2 separate regions of the Homo sapiens genome follow, and region 2 is linked to region 1. The links are contacts of gene promoters, found by promoter capture Hi-C in human tissues and cell types (Jung and others, 2019). All regions are on one chromosome and are shown on one strand. Each heading gives the region's core, a stretch centred on a gene start or on the middle of the fragment in contact. The rest is flanking DNA. Distances are from core to core; before and after follow the strand shown. Region 1 holds the start of GABRA5 (gamma-aminobutyric acid type A receptor subunit alpha5). Region 2 has its middle 34 kb from the start of GABRA5.

What was found. Contacts are between HindIII fragments. The study calls those that stand out against the background at their distance.
Region 2: a fragment that was not itself captured here is called in contact with the fragment with the promoter of GABRA5 in region 1 in 2 of the 25 tissues and cell types used here (pancreas and stomach).

Annotation. Positions count from the first base shown.
Region 1 is chr15:26,862,402-26,868,365 of GRCh38, reverse strand. GABRA5 (gamma-aminobutyric acid type A receptor subunit alpha5) reads right to left here and starts at 1,304. Exons shown (of 11, transcript NM_000810.4): 1 at 1,255-1,304. The HindIII fragment of the contact is 20,920 bases long and covers 1-5,964 here.
Region 2 is chr15:26,830,215-26,836,671 of GRCh38, reverse strand. No RefSeq gene overlaps it. Among named protein-coding and RNA genes, the nearest start is that of GABRA5, 34 kb to the left of the region's middle. The HindIII fragment of the contact is 5,676 bases long and covers 760-6,435 here.

The DNA of each region.
Region 1 (5,964 bases), core at 55-2,554:
CGGAATTGGGAGACACAACAGGTACTTCCACCTCGGAAGCGAAGGCCTTCTGCGACTCCTGCCAAGAAGGGCAGGGTGCCATGCGGTGGTCGCCTGGGCGCGTCCGGGGGGCTCGTCGCGGGGCCCGGGCCAGAGCCAGGCGGCGAGCACGCGGCGCTGCATGCGGGAAACCCGGGCGGCGCCTCCCGCCGCCCCTCAGCCCCGAGCCAGGGACCCCCAGGAGAGGCTGCGCTCCCACGACCCTCCGGACCCCCACAGAGGCTCACCAGGGCCGGCGCGCCAGGGCAGGTGGGCGCGGGGGCTGCACTGCGGAGCCGCAGCCTGGGTCGCCCTGGCACCCGCGGTCGCCACCCGCGCGGTCCGCAGCGGCACGCCGAGGGTCTCCAGCTCCCCGGCCCTCCCCGGCTCGCTCCCGGCTTTCGCAGACTTCCCCTGCTCCTGCCCCGGGTACGAGCCAAGCGCTCCGCCAGGCAGCGCCTTCCTCCTGGGCTGGGAGCGCGCGGTGCAGCAGCGACTCCAAGTCCCCTGGCCTCGAGCAGCCCGCGCGACACGCGCGCGACACCCCCGCGGGGTCCGAGTCCACCCCGCGAGCAGCGCCGGGACGCCGCGCGCCTCAGAGCCCCGGGGCTGACGCTGGCTTTCCAGGTGGGCGATCTCACCCCTCCGGCTCCCGTGATGGTGGCAACGGGTGTCCCCCACCCCCAACCGGTCACCGCGCCCTGGTGCCCCGTCCGGCAGGGATGAGCCGCCCGGACCCCGCTCTCTCCCGCGCCCGGCTTCAGCCCCGCAGTCGCCAGGGTAAAGTTTGCGCTCTGGCCTGGCTGCGCGCCCCGCCTGCTCTGCACCTCTCCTCCCCGGCCACGCAGCCTGCCGCTCAGGCGCCCCGAGGAGAAGGGTGCGGACCGAGCCGGGGCGGCCGGTCCTCTTCCCCGCTCGCGTCCTCTTACCCCACTGCCCCGGCCCAGCGCGCCCAGGGCTCACCCTGCGCGCCGGCCCCGGGAGGCGAGCCGTCGGTGAGGATGCATCCTCCTTCTCCTCCGCCTGCTCTCGCCCGGCTGGCAGGCGCGGAAGGCCGGTGCGGCGTCACCGCCCCATGCTGCCAGCGCGAACTTCCCCGGCACTCCCGGCGGAGCGGCTCTTGCGCCCCGCGCTCCCGCCGCCGCCCTGCAGCTCCGCTCCGCGCCGCGCCCCGGGCCGCGCGCCGCCCGCCGCAGAGCCCCCCAGCGCCCCCGGCGCACTCGCGCCCGCTCTCACCTCGCCCGAGCGCCACATGTCGTCTCTGGGCTGGAGGATCGGCCCTCTGCAGAGGTGCTCCGGTAGAGGCCGCCAGACGCTCAGCAAATGCGCCCTTGGCCGAGCTGGGCGGAGGGGGAGGGCGCAGGGCCCCCGGCTCGGCCTGCAAGGGGAGAGGCCCTGTTCTGCTGAAGTTTCTCCAGGGCCCTCAACAGCATCTTCGGCGCCTCGTGTAGTCACCACCGCCCGCTTGTAGAGCAGGGATGGGAGGGCAGTGTCAGCAGTCGGGTGATAGAGGCCTGGACTCCGACAGCTTTGCTCCCTAGAGCCGGCCCCAACGCCTCCCTGCCCAGGCCTGGGTCCTTCCCGGGTGCTCCATGGCACCCCTTACATGCGCATCTCTTAGGCGCTTCTGAAAGAAGCTGGCCTGTGGACATTCTTTTCATCTCACTCATAGACAGGAATGCATAACTACGGGAGGGAAAGCCAGGGTCACATTGGACTCGATTAGAATGAAATCCTTACCTAACGCAGTGTATATCTGGGGGTTTTCTGAAGTTCCATTTCTTGACAACAAGCCGCAGTGGCAAACGGGAAAGGGCCAGGAGCCCTGGGGGCTGCAGGTCGGAGAGCGCCTCTGGGGTGACGGGGCGGGATCTCCCCAGCAGGGCTTCCGAGCCACGTCGGGTCACTGCCTCATTAGCCACGTACATGGGGTCTTACTATGGTCATTACGTCGGTGTGTCGTCCGTCCTAGTGGTGCAGTTCCTGGGAGGTGAGGGTGGCATTAATGACAACTGCGCGGCAGCAGGGCCCCTTCAAACAACACAAGTAAGAGCGCATCGTCTTGGGTTTGCCAGGTCTTGCTTCCTCAGGAGGTGGGGGACTCTCGACTATAACACCCAGTGGAAAACGTTCAAGACTCAAAGGAAAGCCACTGAAAACGTGATGGGGAGGTTTACTTACACCATTGTCCCATTCCTTTTGTGAAACTGCATTATTCATAATCTCTTTTAACAGAATAATGGTAAGTAAAGGCAAATTCCTAACTCCCCTCCAGGAAAGATCTTTGACCTTCCAGTGTAGGAAGCCTCTCATTTTTCCAGTTATCTCTAATACAGTGTATTCCAAATCTAAGTTACCTGTTAATACTTCTGCACATTCCAGAAATTCTGAAATTTTCTGAAAAACAAAACTTGTAAATCTATTCCAGGAATAGGACATAAATATACATAAATGTGCAAATATACAGGAAGTGTTTCTCTGAATATACATTTAGCCACACTATTAAATAACTGTTTCCAGTGGTTCTTCAGGAAATATGAATGAAATAAGATGCTAATTTGAATTTTCTAATTCTAAAATGGATCACTGAACGTATGCATTTCTTCATTTTCTAATTTCCCAAAAGATGTACCACTAGGGTGAAATTCCTTGGGAGACATTAAATTTTAAAAAGTTAACAACATGGTTTTATGATCAGCCTAATATAATTTTCACCTATTAGGTGTTGGAATTCTAACACCTAATACCAGCGACAGCTGCTCTTCTCTCAGGATTAAACAGCATAATGCAAATCAAAGAGTTGGAAGAATTGGTAAATTTTAAACTTCACAGCTTGTCACACAAAGTCATTCGGTGTGAGTTTGCAAAAATAAATGTATATAAACAAGGGATGATTTTTGTATTAGCGAGGGTTATAGACATTAATTCTTAATAATAAAAGAAATGTCAGCTGTAAGGAAATATGTTCTTTTGATGGATTATGTTTAAAACTTCCACTTTTTTTGGTACACTTTCTATCAGCTTTATGTCCACACAACACATATTATTGAATATATAAAAATCATTTTAAGTTAGAGTCATTCTTTAACATTGTATTTCAGCATGTTGCTTAAATTCTTTTCTCTTCCCTGTAATGAAACGGTATGCCACTCTCTCTCCTCCTAGTGTTTATGTAACATAACATAGCCTCACTTTAGATGGACTGCCCTGAGGGGACAGTGAAATCGTAAGGCCCATCAGAACCTTACAGAAACTCACATTGCTAGAAGAGTGCTTACTACCATTTCAATGATTTTTGTTTTACTATAGAATTCTGTATTTGTGCTGAGAAATAATAGGCTATCCGTTGAATTCCCATTTGTTTCATTAGCATTTTCTCTTCATTGAATGAAATTAAGCAATGTCGTGATCGTTGTGGAAGACAGTAGAGGGCACCCTAGTTCCACACAACCTCAGCCTTGGCCCGGGCTTCATAAGAATTTCATTTCCAGTGTCAGAGCCTAAAATAGCTGAAGGTGGGGAAGCTGGGCCATGAGTAGAACACGTGTTCACAGAGCACCCACCCTGTACCCCGGTCAGGGGCAGGAACTGAGACAGTGGCTGTGTTTGCGTGGTTGGGTGTGGTAAATGTGGCTGAGACATGAACACAGTGCCATGGTATAAGTGAGATCATGTGCTATTTGTCTTTCTGTGCTTGGCTTATTTCACCAAGCATGTTCTCCAGGTTCATCCATGTGGTCAAAAATGGCAGGATTTCCTTCTTTGTTAGGGCTAAATAATATACTGTCGTATATGTATGTTATACATATACGTGTGTGTGTGTGTGTGTGTGCGTGTGTGTGTGTACGTATCTCACAGTTTCTTTATTCATTTATCCATTGGCAGATGCTTAGGTTGTTCCATTATTTGGCTATTGTAAAAAATGCCAAAATGAACATGACAGTTCAGATCTCTCTTTCAGATACTGATTTTATTTCCTTTGACTATATCCCCAGAAAGGGGGTTACTGGGTATATAGTGGTTGCCACGGGCTGGGAGAAGGAGAGACGGGGAGATGTGGGTCAAAGGGTACAAAATTTCAGTTATGCAAGATGAATAAGTTCTGGGGATCTACTATACAACATTGTGACTACAGCTAACAACACTGCGATATATACTTCACACTTGCTAAGAGGGTAGATCTTATGGGTTCTCATCACACACACAAAAGAGGGCAGCTCTGCGAGGTGATGGAAATGTGAGTGCATGTGATTGTGGTGGTGAAGTATACATGTATCAGTCATCAAGCTGAACACCTCAGAAACCAGATTTTACATCAATGAATGGATGAATGAACAGATCTACATTTCTGGATTTAAAAAAATAAAAAGAGAAGACACCCCACAGCTTTAAAAACATGGGGCATCCGTTCCCACCCTCCTGCATCACCTCCATTCTACTGACACCTGACATGGGTCCTTAGAAGAACATGGTCTATTCTTTTTCACACTTTGCCTCCTTTATGTAACTAGGAAAATAGAGGCATATGGGGCTTTTAAAATGATACTAAATTTTTTTCTAATTTCATTGTATCTATTTTATCTTCTTTAGTGTTTTATTTATCATATCTCTATTTTGCCATATTTCATTTTATTTTGTGATGGCTCTAGGGTTTACAGCAGGCATCTTTAACTCATCATAACCTATCTTTTTTCTCTTTTCTTTTCTTTTTTTTTTTTTTTTTTTTTGCGACAGAGTCTTGCTCTCTTGCCCAGATTGGAATGTAGTGGTAAAATCTCAGCTCACTGCAACCTCGAACTCCTGTTCTCAAGTGATCCTCCCATCTTAACCTCTCAACTAGTTGGAACTATGGGCATGCACCATCACACCCAGCTAATTTTTGAATTTTTAGTAGAGACCAAGTCTCACTATGTTGCCCAGGCTTGTCTTGAACTCCTGGGTTCAAGGGATCCTCCCACCTCGGCCTCCCAAAGTGTTGGGATTACAGGCGCGAGCCACCATGCCCGGCCTACAGTCTAACTTTAATTAACATAATACCATTTCATGTACAGTGTAGTGCATGCAACTTACAATAATATACTTCTTTTTTTCTTCCTGTCCTATTCACTCCTGTTATCACACATATGACTTCTGCATTCAGTGACTTATATTTTACTTTAACAATCAATTTCTTTTTTTTTTGGTTTTTAGTTTGTGAATGTAGAATATGAAGGTGCCAACTCTTGTTGACATGTCCTTTCTTTTTAAAAAAACATTCAGTAGATTTAAGGACACAAGTTGTTTTTGGTTACATAGATGAATTGGACAGTGGTGAAGTCGAGGCTTCTAGTGCATCTATCACCCAAATAGTGTACATTGTGCCCAGTAGGTAACTTTTCATCCAGTAGGTAATCTTTCACCTCCCTCCCATCCTTCTCCCTTCTAAGTCTCCAGCATTCATTACTCTGGATGTCCCTGCATACCCACAGCTTCGCTCCCACTTATCAGTGAGAACATGCAGTATTTGGTTATCTGTTTCTGAGTTACTTACTTAGGATAATGGCCCCCCAGTTCCATCCAAGCTGCTGCAAGTGATGTTATTTTATCCTTTTTTATGGATAAGCAGTATTCCATGGTATATATATGCACCAAATTTTCTTTATCCACTCAGTTGATGGGCACTTAAGTTGATTCCATATGTTTGCAATTGTGAATTGTGCTGTGATAAACATATATATACAGGTCTTTTTGATTTAGTGACTTCTTTTCCTTTAGATAGATACACAGTATGGAGTTGCTGGATCGAATGGTAGATCTACTTTTAGTTCTTGGAGAAACCTTTGTCCTGTTTTCTGTAGAGCTTGTACTAATTCACATTCCTACCAACAGTGTATAAGGACTCCCTTTTCATCACATTCTTGCCAACATCTGTTGTTTGCTGACTTTTTAATAAGGGCTATTCCTGCA
Region 2 (6,457 bases), core at 2,348-4,847, 34 kb after region 1:
CAACTTGACTGAATCAGTGTATATAGAACACTATAGTCAACAATAGCAAGCATGTGGATATTACAACTTCTCTGCAGACATTAAAAAGATAACAAAGAAATGATAGCAACAACTCTATGCCCATCAATTCACAAAATTAGATGAAACCTAAAAATGATTTGAATGATACAGGCTATCAAAACTTGCTCAAAGGGAAGTATGTAAATGAATAGTTCTATGTCAATTAGATAAGTTGAATTGATAGCTCAAAACCTTCAATAAAAAAATTCCAAGCCCAAATGTTTTCATTGACAGATCCTATAAACGTTTAAGGAAGAAATAATACTAACTTTATTATACTTTCTCCAGTAAATAGAAAAGAGAACACTTCACAGTCACATTTTCAGCCAGAATTGCCCTAATAACAATATCAGATAATTATATCAAAAGAAAACTACAGTTCAATATCCCAAAAAACCACTAATACAAATAATCCTTGACAAAATAATAGCAAATCAAATTCAGAAACATATAAAAAACTTACATCACAATCATGTTCTTATCTCAATGATGGAAGCCTAGTTCGATATTTAAATATCAATCAATGTAGTTTACTGTACAACAGACTAAGAAGGAAGTCAAATAATTATCTCAATAGGTGCGAAAGAAACAGGCAAAATTCAAAAGCGATTCATGATAAAAACTCTTAGCAAAAATTAATGGATGTAAAAAACCATATTAATAAATAGAAAATAAACCATATGATTATTTCAATAGATGCAGAAAAGCGTTTGGAAATATTTAACACTTTTACATGACTAAAAATAAAACACTCAACAAGCTAATAGTGGAAGGGAACTTCCTCAACTTGATCAAGGGCATGTGTGAAAAACCCACAGCTAACATCTGCTAAGATCGGGAAGAAGATAAGCGTATCCCTTTTCACTGCTTCTATTTGACAATGTACTGGAATTTCTAGCCAAGGCAATTAAACAAGAAAAAAGAAATAAAAAGCACCTAGATTGAAAAGGAAATAAAACTGTCTCTATTCACAGATGGCATATCTTATATATAGAAAATTCTAAAGAATCCACAAATACATACTGAAAAACCTATTACAACTAATAAACTAGTTTAGCAAAGTTTCAGGATACAAATCAATATGAAAAATCACATGTATCTCTATACATTAGCAATGAACAATCTGAAAAGGATATTTTAAAAACAATTTCATTCACAATAGCATTGAATGGGATAAAATACTTAGCAGTATATTAAGTCAAGAAAGTGTAAGTCTTAACATACTGAAAACTACAGAACATAGTTGAAAGAAATTAAAGAGGACCTAAATAAATGAGAAGATATTCCATGTTCATGGATTGGAAATTTTAATACCATTAAGATGGATTTCTCCCCATATTCACTACAGATTCAGTGCAATCCCTATAAAAATTCCAACTGCCTCATTTTGCAGACATTTATGCATCCATCCTAAAATTCATATGGAAATGCAAGGGACCTCAAGTAGTCAAAATAACCTTGAAGAAGAGGAACAAAGATTGAGGACTCAAATGTCCTGGTTTCAAAACTTACTACAGAGCTACAATAATCAGAATTGTGTGATATTGGCATAAAGATAGGCATATAGATCAATGGAACCAGATTGAGAGTCCAGAAATCAATCCATGTATCTCTGGTCAATTGATTTTTGGCAAGGGTGCCAAGAGCATTCTGTGAGGAAAGAATAATCTTTTCAACAAATGGCACTAGAAAAACAGATATCCACATGCAAAAGGATGGATATCCATGTCACACCATATGCAACATTTAATTCAAAATATAGCATGTATAAATATAGGTGATAAAACTATAAAATTCCTTCAAAGAAATGTAGGTGTAAATATTTGTGACTTTGGATTAGGCAACAGTTTCTTAAATATGACACCAAAAGCACAAGTAATCAAAGGAAAAAAAAGCTAAATTGAGTTTCATCAAAATCAAAAGCTTTTGTGTATCAATGGACACTATCAAGAAAGTGACAAGTGGCCAGGCACCATGGCTCACGCCTGTAATCCGAACACTTTGTGAGGCCAAGGAGGGCAGACCATGAGGTCAGGAGATCGAGACCATCCTGGCTAACACGGTGAAACCCCATCTCTACTAAAAATACAAAAAATTAGCTGGACGTGGTGGCATGTGCCTGTAATCCTAGCTACTCGGGAGGCTGAGGCAGGAGAATCGCTTGAACCTGGGAGGCGGAGCTTGCAGTGAGCCGAGATCGCGCCACTGCACTCCAGCCTGGGCGACAGAGCAAGACTCCGTGTCGGAAAAAAAAAAAAAAATAGAATTTATCATGTGATACGGCAACTCCACTCTTAGGGATTTACATAAAATAATTGCAACCTTATGTTCATACAAACATATATGAACATATAGGACTTTTCATAGCAGGATTATTCATAACAGGCAAAAGGTGAAAACAACCCAAATGCTCCACAACTGAGGAAAGGATAAACAAAATGTAGTCCATCCATATAATTTGTTTCAGCCACAAAAAGTAATGAAGTACTGCTACATAGTAGAGTAAGGATGGATCTCGAAAACATTGCACTAAGTAAAAGAAGACAAACACACACACACACAAACACTACTTTATGATTTCATTTATATGAAATGTTCAAAATACGCAAATCTATAGTGACAGGAAGTAGATTAGTGGTTGCTAGGGAGTGGGAGAGAGGGGAATTTGGAAATACGGGTTTCTTCTGGAGTGTGGAAATATTCTGGAATTAGTAGCTGTGGTTGTACAACATTGTGAAAATACTAAAAATCACTGAGTCATAAACTTTAAAATAGTTAAAATGATGAATTTTCTGTTATGGGAATTTTATATGAATAAAAGAAACAAATACAAAACTCTTAGTAAACTACTAGAAAGGGACCTCCTTAACCCGTTCCAGGGCATCTACAAAAAAATCTACAGGTATCATCAATCTAAATGGTGAAAGAATGAATGTTTCCACCCTTAGCAGACCACCTTAGGAGGCCCCTTCCTTATACTGCTAATTGACATTTTCCTGGAAGCTGTACCCAGTGCAGTAAGTCAAGAATAGACCTACATATTGTAAATGAAAAGGTAAATCCTGTCTGTACTCATGTGACATAATTGTCTAGAAAATTCAAAAGGATCTACAGAAAAACTTCAAGAAAAAGTGAGTTCAATCAGATCTTATGAAACACGGTCAATATACAAAAGTCCATATAATGTCTACAGGTTAGCTATTGACAAATGGATTTTTTCATTTTAAAAATATAATTTATATTTTTAAATTCTTAGGTATATATTTAACAAAATACATGCAAAGTCTGTACGCGTATAAAGAGGTAATGGAAGAAATCAAAGAATACCTAAATAAAGGGAGATATATCATGTTTGTGGCTTAGAAGATTCAATATGTTAAAATGTCAGGTTTCCCCAATTTGATCAATAGATGCAATGTAATTTCAGTTGAAATCTGAGCAAGGTTTCTAGTGATATTTCTAGTGATATTCTAGTGATATTAAGCTGATGCTTAAATATAAGGAATGCCAAAGAAAACAGAATAGCTAATACAAACATTAAAAGTAACAAATTTGGAGGATTCGCACTACCTGATTTCAAGATTCATAACAAAATCACGATAATCAAGAGAGAGTGGAATTGATGAAAATTTAGAGACATAGATCGATGAAACAGAGTAGACAGTCTAGAAATACACCAACACAAGTCAGGTCAACTGACTTACGAGAAAAGTGCAAAAACAATTCAATTGAGAAATAATGGAATTTTCTACAAACGGTGCTGGAACAATAGAATATTCATATTTTAAAAAAACACCTTACATAAATTGATGTAATTAAAAGTGATCATGGATCTAAATATAAAATAAAAGGTGGTAAAACTTCTAGCAGAAGGAATAATAAACATCAGTGAAAGTCTGGTTTTGGAAGAAGTTAATTGTAGATATGATGTTAAAAGCACGATTCATAAAAGGAAAAAATGATAAATTGGCCTTCAGCAATTTTTGCCCTTTGAAATACACTGTTAAAACGAAAAGACACGCCACAAGCTGGAAGAAAATATTTTTAAGCCACATATCTGATAACCGAATTTATCAGATACAGATTCTACCCAGAATATACAAGAAGCTCTCAAAACTGAAAAATAAGAAAACAACACACTTTTTTAAATGGGCAAATGATCTGAACAGACATTTTACCTAAGAGGATACATGAATGGCAGGTAAGCATATAAAAGATGTTCAACATCACTAGTTATTGGAGAAATGCATAGTAACCTACAATGCGATACAATTACGCATCTACTGGACTGGCTAAAACTTAAAAACAAAACAAAACAAAACAAACAGAACAAAAACAAGAACTGAAACCATCAAGTCCTGGTGAGGATGCAGAGAAACTGGATCTCTCACACATTACTGTTCGCATCCAAACCGGGCCACACAGCAGGAGGTGAGCGGTCAGCAAGAGAACTTTGTACTTATCTGCCTCGCTTTGCTCACATTACTACCTGAGCTCCGCCTCCTGTCAGATCAGCAGCTGCATTAGAGTCTAATCTAATGCAACTTTGAAAGTCCATTTGGCAGAGTCTTTTAAAATTAAACACACATTTACCACCTAACCCAGGAAAGCCACTTCCAAGTATTTATACAAATGGAATGAAAATTTACATTCACACAACCTTTTTGGCACCAGGGACTGGTTTCATTGAAGACAATTTTTCCACCGATTAGGGCAGGATGCGGTGGGGAGGATGGTTTCAGGAGGATTCAAGCACATTACAGTTATTGTGCACTTTATTTATATTATTATTACCTTGTAGTAATGGAATAATTATACAGCTCACCATAACGTAGAATCAATGGGAGCCCCAAGCTTGTTTTCCTGCTGAGAGGTGACAGCGGGTTGGCAGTCCTCATAGCCGTCGCTCGCTCTCGGCGCCTCCTCTGCCTGGGCTCCCACTTTGGCGGCACTTGAGGAGCCCTTCAGCCCACTGCTGCACTGTGGGAGCCCCTTTCCGGGCTGGCCAAGGCCAGAGCCGGCTCCCTCAGCTTGCAGGGAGGTGTGGAGAGAGAGGGGCAAGCGGGAACCGGGGCTGCGCGCGGCGCTTGCGGGCCAGCTGGAGTTCCGGGTGGGCGTGGACTTGGCGGGCCCCACCCTCGGAGCAGCCAGCCGGCCCTGCCGGCCCCGGGCAATGAGGGGCTTAGCACCCAGGCCAGCCGCTGCGGAGGGTGTACTGGGTCCCCCAGCAGTGCCAGCCCACCGGCGCTGCGCTCGATTTCTCACCGGGCCTTAGCTGCCTTCCCGCGGGGCAGGGCTCGGGACCTGCAGCCCGCCATGCCCGAGCCTCCCACCCCGTCTAGGGGCTCCTGTGCCGCCGGAGCCTCCCGGATGAGCGCCGCCCCCTGCTCCACGGCGCGCAGTCCCATCGACCACCCAAGGGCTGGGGAGTGCAGGTGCACGGAGCGGGACTGGCAGGCCGCTCCATCTGCAGCCCTGGTGCGGGATCCACTGGGTGAAGCCAGCTGGGCTCCTGAGTCTGGTGGGGACGTGGAGAACCTTTATGTCTAGCTCAGGGATTGTAAATACACCAATCGGCACTCTGTATCTAGCTCAAGGTTTGTAAACACACCAATCAGTACCCTGTGTCTAGTTCAGGGCTTGTGAATGCACCAATTGACACTCTGTATCTGGCTTCTCTGGTGGGTCCTTGGAGAACCTTTGTGTCTAGCTCAGGGATTGTAAATACGCCAATCGGCACTCTGTGTCTAGCTCAGGGTTTGTAAACACACCAATCAGCACCCTGTGTCTAGTTCAGGGTTTGTGAATGCACCAATCGACACTCTGTATCTAGCTACTCTGGTGGGGCCTTGGAGAACCTTTGTGTCCACACTCTGTATCTAGTTAATCTAGTGGGGACTTGGAGAACCTTTATGTCTAGCTCAGGGATTGTAAACGCACCAATCAGCGCCCTGTCAAAACAGACCAGTCGGCTCTACCAATCAGCAGGATGTGGGTGGGGCCAGATAAGAGAATAAAAGCAGGCTGCGGGAGCCAGCGGTGGCAACCTGCTGTGGTCTCCTTGCACAGTGTGGAAGCTTTGTTCTATCGCTCTTTGCAATAAATCTTGCTACTGCTCACTCTTTGGGTCCACACTGCTTTTATGAGCTGTAACATTCACCGCGAAGGCCTGCAGCTTCACTCCCGAAGCCAGCGAGACCACAAGCCCACCGGGAGGAACGAACAACTCCAGAAGCACCGCCTTAAGAGCTGTAACACTCACCGCCAAGGTGTGCAGCTTCACTCCTGAGCCAGCGAGACCAGAAACCCACCAGAAGGAACAAACTCCGAACACATCCAGACATCAGAAGGAACAAACTCCAGACGCGCCACCTTAAGAGCTGTACCAGTCACTGCA